Regions from separate parts of the Homo sapiens genome. Here all the other regions are linked to region 1. Evidence: promoter capture Hi-C in human tissues and cell types (Jung and others, 2019). All regions are on one chromosome and are shown on one strand. The core of a region is centred on a gene start or on the middle of the fragment in contact, and the rest is flanking DNA. Distances in the headings are between cores, read along the strand shown. Region 1 overlaps MMP26 (matrix metallopeptidase 26). Region 2 holds the start of OR51L1 (olfactory receptor family 51 subfamily L member 1). Region 3 holds the start of OR51F2 (olfactory receptor family 51 subfamily F member 2).

Region 1 (4,678 bases), core at 1,368-3,867:
AAGAGTAATTTATATTTTTTAATTGACAATAAGGCTTGCTTTTATTTGTCATATTATTAAGTAAATAAATCTCTACTGATATTAGGGCATTAGAAAAACACCCCGATATTTAACCTTCTTGTTTAACCGTCAGGGCATAATATATTCACTCTTCATGTATGCACACACACTGAAACCACTTACTCTTCCTCCCCATAGACATGTATTCAGATATAAGCAGTTTAACAAACCTTAGATTTAGGTTTCCAAAAGGATTTATAGCTCCTTAACCTTACCAGAACCAGATGCTCAGTAAGTTCCTGAAGGATAAAAACAAGAATTCTCCACTTTCACTTCCACTTTATCTAGAGGTACCTACTTCTCTTTTCCTCAGGTGACTAGACCCTTGAGAGTAATCAAGCTTACACAGAAAGGGTTAGGCCTGGGGCTGGTACATTACTTTGTATTCATTGTACCTTAACAGAAACTAGAGGCAAATTGTGAGACAAACTACAGGGAGACTACTCATCTGAAAGGTAAACATTTGAAGTTGAAGAAGCTTGACACATGGGATTTGTAGAGGTTGGAAAATATAGTTAAAATAACATGTTATCTATAATCAAAACACTTTATGTCCAATTCTAAGTCAAACCACTTAAACGTTCTTCATCTTAGCTTAATCATCCACAAAATGGAGATAGTAATCTATAAGTATCAAATATTTAGAAAAGCACTTTACAAACTATAAAATGGTTTACCAGTCATTCCACTTATTTGTATGATCCATTTTTGGCAAAATATTAACATTGAAATAGACATAGCCTGTCGTACTCTGTTAGATTTTTAAAGCAGTGTCTCAAAACTACATGCCTTCCACATTATATTGCATTCACTAGAACCGTCCGAGGAGTATCCTGCGTTTTATTCACATATTTCTATTTTATATGTCAGTTCCATCATGGTTTAAATTAAATAATAATTATTTAAGGCTATGAAACAATATAAAAATGTGAAGACAATTTAAGTAAAAATGTATAAAATAAGGATATATATATAACTGTTTTAAGTATTTCTTAAAGCATATTTCTAAGTTAAAAAGAAAAACTTTGGTTAAAATAATGGAAAGCCTTACATTAATAATAAAATAATTTTAATTAATACAATTTAATGGAATAATAATATAAAAGACACAACATGGCTCAAATACAAAATACATATATCTGTGAATAAGAAATGAATAGAAATTTAAAACAATGAGCAGGGATAAGCCCACTCATTGCTAGTTCCCATGTCTGGAGAAGACGATCAACTCCCATAAGATAAATGAGATTACATATTCTCCATGTTAAGTTATCTGAAGCAAATAGACTTATTAAATGTCATTGGGCTATTCTAGCAGATGCATTTGATACCCACCTTATTATCTTGGGACTTAACATTTTATTATAAGTTGCTAATTGGAAGAAAATATTTGCAAAAGACACAAGAATTCTTGAAACTCAATAAGAAAACAAACAACACAACTAAAAAGTGTGTCAAACAATAGCAAAGACATGAAACCAACCCAGGTGCCAACAGAAGGTTGGATAAAGAAAATGTGATACATGTACACCAGGGAATACTACACAGCCACAAAAAAAGAACAAAATCGTGTCCTCTGGAGCAACATGGATGCATCTGGAAGCCATTATCCTGAGCAAATTAACACAGCAACAGAAAACCAGATACTGTGTTCTTACTTGTAAGTGAGAAAAGATTCTAGAAAACAGATTGCCAATAAGAAATTCTAGAGTTGGATTCATCACTGTCTGCATCACAATAGGAACCACATCACTGGTTGCAGATGAAATGTTGATGGTCCCTGACATGCTGTAGCAAGTTATTGTTAAAATTTTCATCTGAAGTGAACTGTAATAGTACCCAGAGGAAAGGTAACTCACAAGATTTATTTATAAATAGAGCATTCTCTGTAAACTGGATTCTCTTACTGGCTACTTTTGTGTGTGTAACGAAAAGGGTCATGGAGGACTACTGTGGACTCCAATCTCAACCAAGTAGAAACATCAGTTTAAAGTTTTATGTCAGGTGCAGTGTTTTTACCAGGGAAGATTAAGATTAACCTGGATTCGATTATCAAGTATGTAGTATTTATGTGGCAAATATATTCTCTTCCATCTTCTATAATAAATCTATAATTTGAAAATACTTATTTTCTTTGGATATTTTGCATAATATTTTATTGACCCACTATATCAATGACAATATATTAATCAGGTAGACGAGCATGAAATGCAAGTATATTGGCATTCTTGTCAAAACACAGTGCTCTTTAGGTGGGAAAGGATAGAGATAAACACCCATACAAAAAAGTAGGAATCTTAAACATTAGAGAAGTTTTTAGGGATCCTGCGGTATAGGAAAAATTGCGACAGCCTCTCTCAGTTAATAGACAAACTAAAGCATTTTTTATCTTTTACCACCAAGAAGAAAGTACCACATGTAGTGACCTCCTGAAACCCCGGAGGCAGCATATGCCACACTTTGAGTGCTAATTCTACTCACATAACAGAAAGACGTATGCCCATGCTAAGACACAAGTAAGACCATCAAGCACAACTGAAAGAGCACAAAGAGGGGGCCGGGCATGGTGGCTCACACCTGTAATCCCAGCACTTTGGGAGGCCGAGGCAGGCGGATCACAAGGTCAGGAGATTGAGACCATCCCGGCAAACACTGTGAAACCCCGTCTCTACTAAAAATACAAAAAAATTAGCCAGGTGTGGTGGCAGGCACCTGTAGTCTCAGCTACTCAGGAGGCTGAGGCAGGAGAATGGCATGAACCCCGGGGGGCAGAGCTTGCAGTGAGCGGAGATCACGCCACTGCACTCCAGACTGGGCGACAGAGTGAGACTCCGTCTCAAAAAAAAAAAAAAAAAAAAAAAAAAAGCACAAAGAGGTGATGCGAAGTCCACTGATGTTAGTGCACTACTATTGCAATGTGGTGCACTTTCCCTAAGCTTACACTTGTAGCTACGTGGATGATCCCTTATGACCAGCTGGTGGGGGATGAAAGCCAAGTTAGTTCATAAATGAGTAAAGTTGGTATGCCAAAAATGAACTGTAGATGTGTTACTGATCCATTAAGGAGTGACTTTGAAAGATAGTACTTAGGAGAAATACATCCCACGGACAAATCAGCTGATGGACTCACTCATCCTCTTTGTATAAAAAAGAGGTGGTTCTATGTAAGAATACACAAAAATTCAACTTATTGTTAATGGTGGGTAACTTGGCTAATTGACCAGGCTGTTGGAAGGAGAAAGACTGGAATACTAGTGACAAAGAGGCAGAGGGATGAAGTGGCATGTGGATGGTTCTAGAAGTTAGAACAAAGTTTGAAGATCTTTATATAAAAGATCAATGTTCATCATAGTCTATACATAATGGAAAAGAACCTAAGCTATAAAGAACACTGAGTGGACCTGACAATTTATATCAGCTAGATTCTGATATAAGCAACCTCAGTGGTGGCATAATTGGCTCCTAATTGAAGTAGCTATAGTGGCAGGATGAAAACTGCATAAACACAAAGCATAGTTTCCCACTCAACAAGGCTGATAAAACTTCTCTTTCTACTAAATATTAACCTGGCAATGATAGAAAACAATGTTAACTGCCCAATGTAGCATCACTTCTTGAGTAGAAAATGGCCACTTAATGGAAGATTATTCTACCCCACAAAAGGCAGCAAATGAACTTGATAGAAATTGACACATATGATGGGTGTAGGTTTGTTTTATTTTCTTGAAGAGTCATAGCCAAACCTAGTATCTCAGGGCTTACAAAGGGTTTGATCCACCAGCATAGGACATTATGTTATATCACTTCATGAAAAGGGACACATTTTAGAATACTTGCAACAGTAGACACACAACCATGCTTGTATCATGGGCTACACCACTCAAAAGCTTCCAATCTGGTACAGAAATAGAACAGGTAGAGTTGAGTCTCCACCTTAGAGACGACATTAGTGAGGATGAGACAACATACCCCAGATGCGTCATGTACAACACACCAACAATCATTATACATAGCTTTGACTGCAATGATTAGAATAAATATATTTGGGAACAAAAGAGCTGAAATTAAGAGTAGTCCCACTTACCATCATTTTTGGTGACCTACTTGGAAAATTTGTGTTTCCTATTTCTGCAATTTATGTTCTGTTGAGCTAAAGGTCCTCATTTTCAGAGTGGGAGACATTGTGAGGATCTTTTAATTAATTTAAAAATAAAATAAATAAAATTTATGTTAAGCTCTTGCCTAATAACTTTGATCTTCTCTAAGCTCAAAAACAAGCTGGCAAGGAAAGAGGTCATTAGCCTGATGGGGTAATTAATTAATCCTTGATCATCAGGAAAAGATAGGGCTTCTAATAAACAATGAAGGAATGGAAGAATATGTTCAGTACCCAGATAGCTGACTGGTTGTCTCTTGGTACCATCCTGGCAAATTTTGATGATAAATTAGCAAGTGAAATAGCCTTAGCCTGAAAAGGTCATTCTATAGAGACATTTTTACCCTTTGAAAAAAGGATCTGGTTGCTCTACCATGAAAGAAACCTATGCAATAAATGTTGTAGTCTTTACTAAAGAAGAATTTAGAATGGATTATAGAGATGGCAGATGATAAGATCAGT
Region 2 (4,678 bases), core at 1,335-3,834, 93 kb before region 1:
ATTTCCAAATGTGGTCTCAAACTCGTATCACAAGGCTCCAGCTAGCTAGCTGTTTCTTTTTATTATCTCCATTATATTTAATAAAAAGCTTTATTTTAAAAATCCCTTGACTGATTCTTATCTCACTTTCATACCGTGAAGACTGAAAGTTCTTAGATGGCACAACTTAGAATTCCAAAGAGGACTTGATTTAGAATCTGTATCTGAGGAACAAAAGAAAGCACAAAGCCCTCTTCTCCATGTAATGAGAAGGATTTGTCTCTTTTTCTACTTTTACCCAAGTACAGGAATCCTCCATCTTCTATGAGTCAGAACCTAACCTGGTACTCTTCTCTAGCCTAGGCAATGTGAATGAAGCTTTCATTTGAGACCCTCGTCTTAAATAAAGCAGTCAGCTACCCATCAAATTCTTCACACCCAGCAGAGTATGTGTTTAGAGCATTTATTTTTCTTCACCCCTAAGCAACATTTTTCTCTCCAGTCTTCCATATCACTAGCTGACTTTATTTTTTCTTTCTCCTCACTCAGAAAAATTTTTTGACCTCCTGTTGTACAGTTGAGCTCATAAAAATGATATAGGTATTAACATCGAAATAAAAAGAACACACACACACACAGAGTGAGAGAGAGGGAGGAGAGAAAGAAAGAAACAGAGAGAGAGAAATGAAAGAAAGAAAGAAAGAAAGAAAGAAAGAAAGAAAGAAAGAAAGAAAAGAAAAGAAAGGAAGGAAGGAAAAGAAAGAAAAAGAAAGAAAGAGAAAAAAAGAAAAAGAAAAGAAAACTGTGGCCACAGTGGAGAAGTAGTTTATTTTACCCCATGCCAGAAAAATATTCCATGTTTTCTCCTTTAATTCTTTCAGTCCTGAAATAAATCATATTTTCTTAAATTCTCACATAGAATGCAAAGAACAAAGTGGATCACTACTCTTTAGAATTCTCTTTCTCCCTGCTTTATGTGCAAGTCCCCTATGTGCAGATTGCGATGTTTAGAAAACTTCAGTTGTAGACTGGCCAATAGATTTGAGGTTAGGACAGGCAGGAATATTTCTGTTTGTAATCCCTATTAATTTTTAACTGTGTATATTTAAGGTATACAGAATGATGTTTATATATATATATGCATATACATAGACATATACATAGTGAAATGGTCATTACTATGTGCCTGTGTGTGTGTGTGTGCATGCACACACGTGCATGTGTATGCTAAGAACACCTAAGCTCTACTCTCTTGGCAAATTTTCGGTATACAATTTCTGTGGTTTTAATTCTTGCTCATATTGGTTTATCCCTCACTTAAAAAGAGTCCCCATTTCTACAATATTATTAACTCACTGCTTTATCTCATTGATTTATCCCTCACCTGAAAAGAGTTCCCATTCTACAATATTATGAACTGTGGTCATGCTGTATATTAGATCTCTAGACTTATTCTTCCTACATAACTGCAAGTTTGTATGCTTTGAGCTACTTTTCCGCATTTCCTCCACTACCCGGGCCCCCTAAGCCCCTTTCCCGTTTCTATTTCTGTGTGTACTTTCCCTTTCTTATCCTCTCACTGCCATATCTGTCATGTCTTTCACTTTTTAAAATCCATTTATTGTCTTTTCTCTATTCATTTTCTTTTGACTCTATTTCTGGGTCACTGACAATGATTCTTTGTGGTTCTTTGTTGATTTTAGTACAACTTAATCACACTGAGGTCGAAAGAGAAATAATAGAAAAGAACTGGGAGTAATAACAAGACTGTTTCAAAGGGCAGAGGCATGAATAGGCTTATGTCACACATTCACCTATTCCAGGTAATTAAGGGAGAACTACTGAACATAAGACCATTTTTTTACAGCCTCTCTAGTATCAAAACCTATTCTCTGCTAATCAGCTTATCGCTTATCTTAAAATCGCTGAAAATAATTGGAACAAGACATTACAATACTGTAATAAATTTAATTTTTTTCACAGATGAGAATAATTCTTTTTCCTTTTGCATAAATGGTACATCATCTTTCTCATAATTTTACTCTCTTTAGCAAACTATATCCACATACAAAATGTGCTAAAATCTACCAACTATTTATAATTTAAAAATTCACACTTACCTGAAATTTAAATATAAGGCAATTGAATCAATATGCCTAGTTAATTTGCAATCAGTAGCCCATTTCTCAAATGATCCACAGTTCCATTTTGTCTTTCTCTGACTAAACTTTTCTTCACTATAGTTAAAGTCATATTTTCTTTCTGTTCCTATGTCTGTGGCTTTTTCTCTCTTTATCTCATTTTATGTGTCAAATTATCTTTACTATCTTTTCTAGCCTCCTTCCTGCTGCCATTTTTTTATATTTTGTTTTTATCTAAGTTTGTGTCTTTTCAGCATGTAATCCTCTATTTTTTCCGGTCCCTTTGATTGGCTGTTTCTTTCTTCTAATTTCTCTTTGTGTGTCTGTGGTTTAAGTTGCTGCTCTTACGGGCTTATCTCTCACCTGAGAAAACTTCCCATCTCTACCTGAAAATCAAACCTGTACTGATTAAAGATGCTACAATTTTAAGTCTCTATGAACCTCAGGTTTTGAAAACCTTCGACTCTGTGAGTGGTGAGGCTTGAAGGCTTCCACCATCTCTATAAATACTCCTGGTGTCTCCTGGCAAAGAAAATTAGGGATTGGTGTCAGAGTCTGTTGGATCCCCAGAGATGAAATGGCCATAAAAAGCCCTTAACCACAGGTATGGCAAGAGCATATGATCATAATACTGAAAATAGTAGAAATGCATCCCTGTTTTCATCCACCATTCTTAGTTCTCTAATAGTTTTCTCAAATGAGTGTAAGAAAGTAAATTTATGATAACTACTGTGATCCAGAAGAATACTGAAATTTCGGCTTTAACTAGGGGCATTGTACAGAACAATGATGAGAAAGTGCAATGATAAGTCTTTCCATTATAAGATGTTTACCACATTTCACTAAACAGAGTTATTTATTAGTCATGTGCTTCATAAGCATTTATTAAGCAACAGGGTTCAAGAAGGCACACTAAGCACTTTAAAGGCAAACGCTACTATCCAGTTCATTGCTGCTTCCTCAGTGCTTGGTAAGAAGCATCATCTCCCAACACATTTTTTTTCTTTGCATATTGGCTATCCTACCTCTTTGCATTTATTAATAAATTTTAGAAACAGGTTATCCATTTCTACCAAGATATACATTGAGACTACTATTGAGAATGTATTGAATCTGTAGATCGATTTGGGGAGAATTTACATGTTTAGAATGTAAGATAACTAATCCAAGAACAGGAACTTCAATTAATTAAGGTCTTTATTTTTTCTCAATATTATTTTATACTTGTCTGTTTGGAGATTACATATTTTACACTAGGTTTATTCTCACATATTTGGCATTCAATTGTGCTAACGTAAGTAGCATGATTAATTTTTTCTAAATATTTGGGACTGTTACATAAAAATAAAGTTAATTTTTCTTTTTTCAGAAAAGCTGAACTTATTTTTTATTTTTAATAAGTGATCTGTATTCTCTAAGGCCTTATTTTGCACCAAATCACACCTCCACAAGTAATGTCAGCTTCTTTTTCTCTTATTTAAAATCTTCATTATCGTTTTCTATATTTATTGCTTTGTTGCATTGGATAAGATCTCCAGTGCATTTTGGGGAGAAGGGATAAAAATTGTTTTCTTTTCTTTTTGCAGATATCACAGGTGTGGTTAACAACATTTTACCATTAAGTATGTTTGCTAAGATTTTTTGTACCTGCTTTTATCCGAGAATGTTGTCATCTTCTATTGTTCATGTGATAAGGGATTTTGTCAAAAATAGATGCTGAATTTCATAAAATTATTTTGGGTTTATTGAAATTCATGCTTTTATGATACATATTATTTTTCTTTAATATCATGTTAATGTGATTAATTATATTGATTGATTTTCAAATATCAACTTGTCTTTCTGGAATAAACTCAAGTTTGGAATGCCATTTTCTTTTCTTTATTTATTGCCAGATTTGGTTTGCAAATATTTCGTTTAGAATTTTGACATCGATGTTCATCAGTAAGCACGGCCTGAAATTTTCCTTACTGTAATGTCTTTGTCATGTTTTGTTATGAGATTGAGATTACACAAAGCTCTAAAATACCTGAAGAAATATTCTTTCTCTTCTCCCCGGGAAGATTTTGCATATGCTGGTATGTTGTTTTTTAATTAAATGGCCATCCCAGGGTAGTTTTAATTATAGGCTTTCTAGTTAATCCTTACGGACAATTCAGGTTTTCTCTTTGTCAGTTTTAAAACTAGTTGTGGAGAGATGTAATTAAGGATTACATTATCCAACATTTATAGGACCATTTAGATCTTCTATTTATTCTTTTACCAATTTTTATAAATTGTATTTATCTAGGAATACATAGTTTGGATATACATTTTGATATTTATTGGTTATAAGTTATTCTTAAGTACTTTCATAATTTTTCAAGATCTGCAGTAGTCACACGGTATCTGCTTTTCTCATTACTCATGTTGTTTTGATATGCATTTTCTTTTTTATACTACTAGTGTCACAGTAGATTGACAGTTTCATTGGCTTTTCAAATAGTCAACTTCAGAGGTTAGGTTCTCCAGAAGCAAATACAAAGGGAGAGTTTGAGATGCAAAGGACTTGTTAGGAA
Region 3 (4,678 bases), core at 934-3,433, 80 kb after region 1:
TGCAGTGGCACAATAGCCCTACCTTTGATGGCATAAAGGAGAGTGGTGAAGGAAAACATTTCCAAAGGGCAGAGTTGTGAGTAGTACTCTTGGTTGTTAATGTTGTTTGGGGGAGAAGTTGTCTGAAGTCTGTGGATATACATGGACTAGGACTTTGCTAAAAGGCTTGGATAATTTGTCAACAGATGGAACTAGCAACTTTGTTAGAAGAGATGTAAGAAAGTCTGCATGTGATGTGCTATTGAAGCACACACAAAGGATGAAAAGCTCTGTGTCTTATGTTAATATTCACTACAGAGTATTCACTTCAGAGGAGGGACTCAACAACCAGCTATAAAGTATCTATACGTTGATATCAGCCAGCCTTTGCTCTGCCATTGCTAGTCCAGTGAGCCCATAAATGAAACCATAAAATCAGGGATAGAGATAAATATGAGCCAAAAGTACAGATTCTCTTACACCAAGATAAATCTTGGTTTAAAAAAAAATGAAAAATAGTGTTATCCTTACTCCTAGAATGTTAACAATGTAATTACCAACTTTTAACTCTTCAGCTAACAGCAGCAGTAACTGATGCTGAGCACATAATATGGTATCTTGTATTTACATTAGGTAGCCCCTGCACATAATAAAGGGCAAAATAATTCCATCTAGATAAGACCCAATGTGGAATTACATTGATGTGTATTTTAGGATCCACCCTATAGAATCTCTATTTTGGAATCGCATATATAATCAAGAATTTCAAGAAAAGAAACTAATTAAAGTGTTTTCTGTGTGTCATTCAGAAAATAACAACTGACTTATTTAGAAAGTTTCTCACATTAAATGTGAACTTTTATAATTGTATACAGAGCCTGAATTAATACTTTATGTAGCTTTCATACTGCTTACAAATATAATTAGTTGTTTATATATGTTTCTTCACTTCATATTGAAAACAAAATCATAATTTAGTTGGCAATGACATGAATTTATTGACAAAGAAATTGACTAAATAAATGTCACATAACCTATAAATTGCTTAGTTTGGACTGTTGGAGGCATGTGTGGGCACTTTGGGACAATTACTCCATTGTAGCAAAGCACTTATTCATAAATGGCTTTATCTCTAATCAGAAATAGCTGATGATTAGATTTGGAGTGCTTCTGAATTAAGACCTTGATAATGGCCTTTTGAATCTGCTTAATCTTTACACTGTAAATAATAGGGTTGAGCACAGGAGGGATTAGCAGAAAGACATTGGCCATGATGATGTGGACAAATGGAGGTGCTGAATGGCCATAGCGATGGACAAGAGACAAACTGATGAGAGGGAGGTAGAAGATGGAAACAGCACTGATGTGGGATGTGCAGGTGTTGAAGGCTTTCCGCCTCTCTTCTGAGGAAGCAATGCTGAGGACAGATCGAATGATCAGGATATAGGAGAGCAGGATGCAAGGGCAGTCAAACCCTGTAGTGGACAAAAGCGCAAACAGACCAAGGATGCTGTTGATCCTATTGTCTGTGCAGGAGAGTTGGATGAGATCAACATGGTAGCAGTAAGAATGTGAAAGGACCATAGAACTGCAGAAGGACAACCTCTTGACAAAGAGCATGACTGGCAACATGACGGCAACATTTCTTATCAACATGCTCATCCCAATCTTGGCAATTCGGGCATTGGTAAGGATGGTAGTGTATCTCAGTGGGTAACAGATGGCCACAAAACGATCAAAGGCCATGGCCAGTAGAACCCCAGACTCCATGAAAGTAAATCCGTGTAGAAAGAACATCTGGGCAATGCAGGCATTTAGGTTGATTTCTCGGGCTTCAAACCAGAAGACACCAAGGGTAGTAGAAAGTGTACACAGGGACAAGCTCAGGTCTGTGGCTGAAAGCATAGAGAGGAAATAGTACATAGGCTTATGGAGGCTCCGTTCACAGAGGACCACAAACAGGATCATGCTATTTCCAGAGACGGCAACAACATATAGGAGACAAAAAGGGATGGAGATCCAGTACTGGGTGGCTTTCAGGCCTGGAATGCCCATCAGGAGGAAGATCAGAGGCTCAGCAATGGTATTATTGAGGACCGACATAGGGAAGCACTGAGAAGACAGGGATGTTTCAGTCATTTAACATAACACATAATACATAGTTTATCACTTGTAACATCTCTCTGGCACTTCAAGATTCACTGAGTTATTATTTCTAATTTTCAAAGAACTTGAATTTTCTTTTTAGCTTCCCAGAGCTACACATTTCTCTCCAAGTCTGTCAGTGTTTCACATTTATTGAGAAAAGTGAATTCCCTGAACTGTGCCACATCAAATTTTCTTAAGTATATTAAGCCTATAATTCTCATTACTAGCAATAAACATTACAATTAAGTCACGTCTGCCAATATAAATCCCCAGTAAAATTCCTAAACAATATTATGAGAAACCTGCTTTCCAGTACTTGTTGAAAATAAATTTTGATTCTGGAATAAAACACTGAGCAAACTAAGTCATATCTGAAATGTGAATATTATTATATTTCCTTGGAAAATATCCAGAAGAATGCCAAAAAATCCCTGGGACACACAGGCCCATATATGTGGTAATAGGGTGGCCCAAAAAAACACCCTAAGAAAAATAAATATTGATCGCATTTGTTGGGAGTTCCCTGTGTTGTTGACATTTTATATGCATTATATAATTTCATCCATACACCAACTCTTGGAGATAGATCGTACACGAATTTTGCAGATGAGCAAGCTAAGACTCAGCAATTAATCACCCAATGTTATCTTTATAAAGCACTGCCTAAATGTTGAGAGAAACCACAAAAGTAAGAAAGTTGGAGAAAGGAGAGAGACAACGATGACAGAGGAGGAGGAGAAGAAGGAGGAGAAAGAGAAAGACTAGTGAAGGTGGAGGCAGGTAAGAGCACAAAGGGGAAGAGGAGGAAAGTGCAAGAGGAGGAGGAGGAATAAGAGGAAGAAGGGAGGGAGTGAGAAAGAAGGGAAGGAAGAAAGGGAAGGAATGGAGGAAAAAAGCAAACCTTACCATAATTTTACTACAATAAATTAAGCACTACACTATGATAAATAATACCACAGACTAGTATCAAAATAAAAAAAACACAATAGCCAGCATTTCTTGAACATGTGCCATATGCCAGACACAATTATCTTCATATCCATAATATGATCCAATCATTATTATTCAACAAAGAAAATAAATTTCTTATCCCTAATATACATATGAAGAAACTGATATTTACATTAAGTAATTTGCCCCAAATTATGCAGTTAGGCAGTAGAAGAAATGAGGATGAAACCTGCATATCTAACCTCAATGCCTTCACTCAGTAAAGCTGAGGAATGCATAAAAGGAATTTCTAAACCAGTCTGACAAAGGCTCCAGGTGTATGATTTTAAAGAGACATACTATGGTCCGTGTGGTATCTTTGGAGGGGAGTTTGATGTGTCAAATGTTAATTCCATGTGAACTGTGGAGATATGAAGCTCTTTAGGCTTCTCTGGAAAGTAGTCTTAATATCGATAGTTCCTGTATGCAAAGGGCCAAGAAAATCAGGTATCCAGGCTATATCCACTATGGAAAATAACACCAAAATGGAACCATCAAATTCAGTTGAGGCCAGGCACAGGGTTCATGCCTGTTATCCCAACACTTTGGGAGGTCGAGGCGGGAGGATCACTTGAGCCCAGGAGTTCAAGACCAGCATGGGTAACATAGGGAAACCCCATCTCTACAAAAACGTTTACAAATTAGCCAGGCATGGTGGTACATGTCTGTAGGTCCCAACTACTGGGTAAGCTGAAGTAGGAGAATTTCTTGAGCTCAGAAGTCAAGATTGCAGTGAGTCATGAATGTGTCACTGTACTCCAGCCTGAGTGACAGAGAGAAACACTGTCTCAAAAAAAAAAAAAAAAAAAAAAAAAAAAAATCAGTCGACTCATTTCAGTGACCATCTCATTCTTTCAACAATACATATTTTGTTGATGATTCTGGAAATTTTCTCTCCCTCATTATTTTATGATACCAGTCTCTCTTAATATTCTCCCATTAATCAGCTCTTTCTCTGACTGTTTCAGTTTTCTTGTTTCTTTCCCCCCTCTCCCGGGTACCTTATGTTTTCCAACCTTATATTTGGCATTCTTCAGAGATCTCTCCTTTGCCTATTCTCAAGTCACTTGTAAAATTATCTCCCCCATTTTCACAGCCTCATATTTCACCTATACAATAATAAATTTCAAGTGAATTTCTGAAAACCAGTTTTGGTGTTTAGGTTCCATGTCTGAAGATAAAACTTTATTCTGGACATTTCCATCTAGATTTTTCATGGGTAAATAAGAAAACCTCCTATGTTCAAAACCAAATTGATTATTTTCTCTTATAACTGTTTTTCCTCCTATACCATTTTCTGTATAAAGGCTATAACTTTCATAAAAATGACCCAATTTTCTAAATCAGAAATCTAGGAGTTATCCTGTATTCTCTTATTTTTTAACCAACACCTCTTCCAATCTTTTCTATTCAACCTCTAATATCTGTCTTTATTCTTCCAGCTTGTCTTTATCTGAGTACAAAATACTCTTTTCCAAATGTATTCACTCTCTAACCTGGACTATTGAATTAGTCTAATACTGTATTTTATTAATATAGTCACATTAATATAATAATATAA

The links. Contacts are between HindIII fragments. The study calls those that stand out against the background at their distance.
Region 2: the fragment with the promoter of OR51L1 here is called in contact with a fragment that was not itself captured in region 1 in 2 of the 25 tissues and cell types used here (mesenchymal stem cells and thymus).
Region 3: a contact is called between the fragment with the promoter of OR51F2 here and a fragment that was not itself captured in region 1, in 2 of the 25 tissues and cell types used here (small bowel and thymus).

Annotation. Positions count from the first base shown.
Region 1 is chr11:4,899,397-4,904,074 of GRCh38, reverse strand. The region is part of intron 2 of MMP26 (matrix metallopeptidase 26); the gene reads right to left. OR51A7 (olfactory receptor family 51 subfamily A member 7) reads right to left here and starts at 292. Exons shown (of 2, transcript NM_001004749.2): 1 at 231-292. The HindIII fragment of the contact is 6,232 bases long and covers 1-4,678 here.
Region 2 is chr11:4,992,757-4,997,434 of GRCh38, reverse strand. OR51L1 (olfactory receptor family 51 subfamily L member 1) reads right to left here and starts at 2,584. Exons shown (of 3, transcript NM_001004755.2): 1 at 2,100-2,584. The HindIII fragment of the contact is 11,490 bases long and covers 1-3,326 here.
Region 3 is chr11:4,818,826-4,823,503 of GRCh38, reverse strand. OR51F2 (olfactory receptor family 51 subfamily F member 2) reads right to left here and starts at 2,183. Exons shown (of 1, transcript NM_001004753.2): 1 at 1,048-2,183. The coding sequence starts at 2,082. The coding sequence ends at 1,090. All of the region lies in intron 2 of MMP26 (matrix metallopeptidase 26), which reads right to left. The HindIII fragment of the contact is 11,845 bases long and covers 1-4,678 here.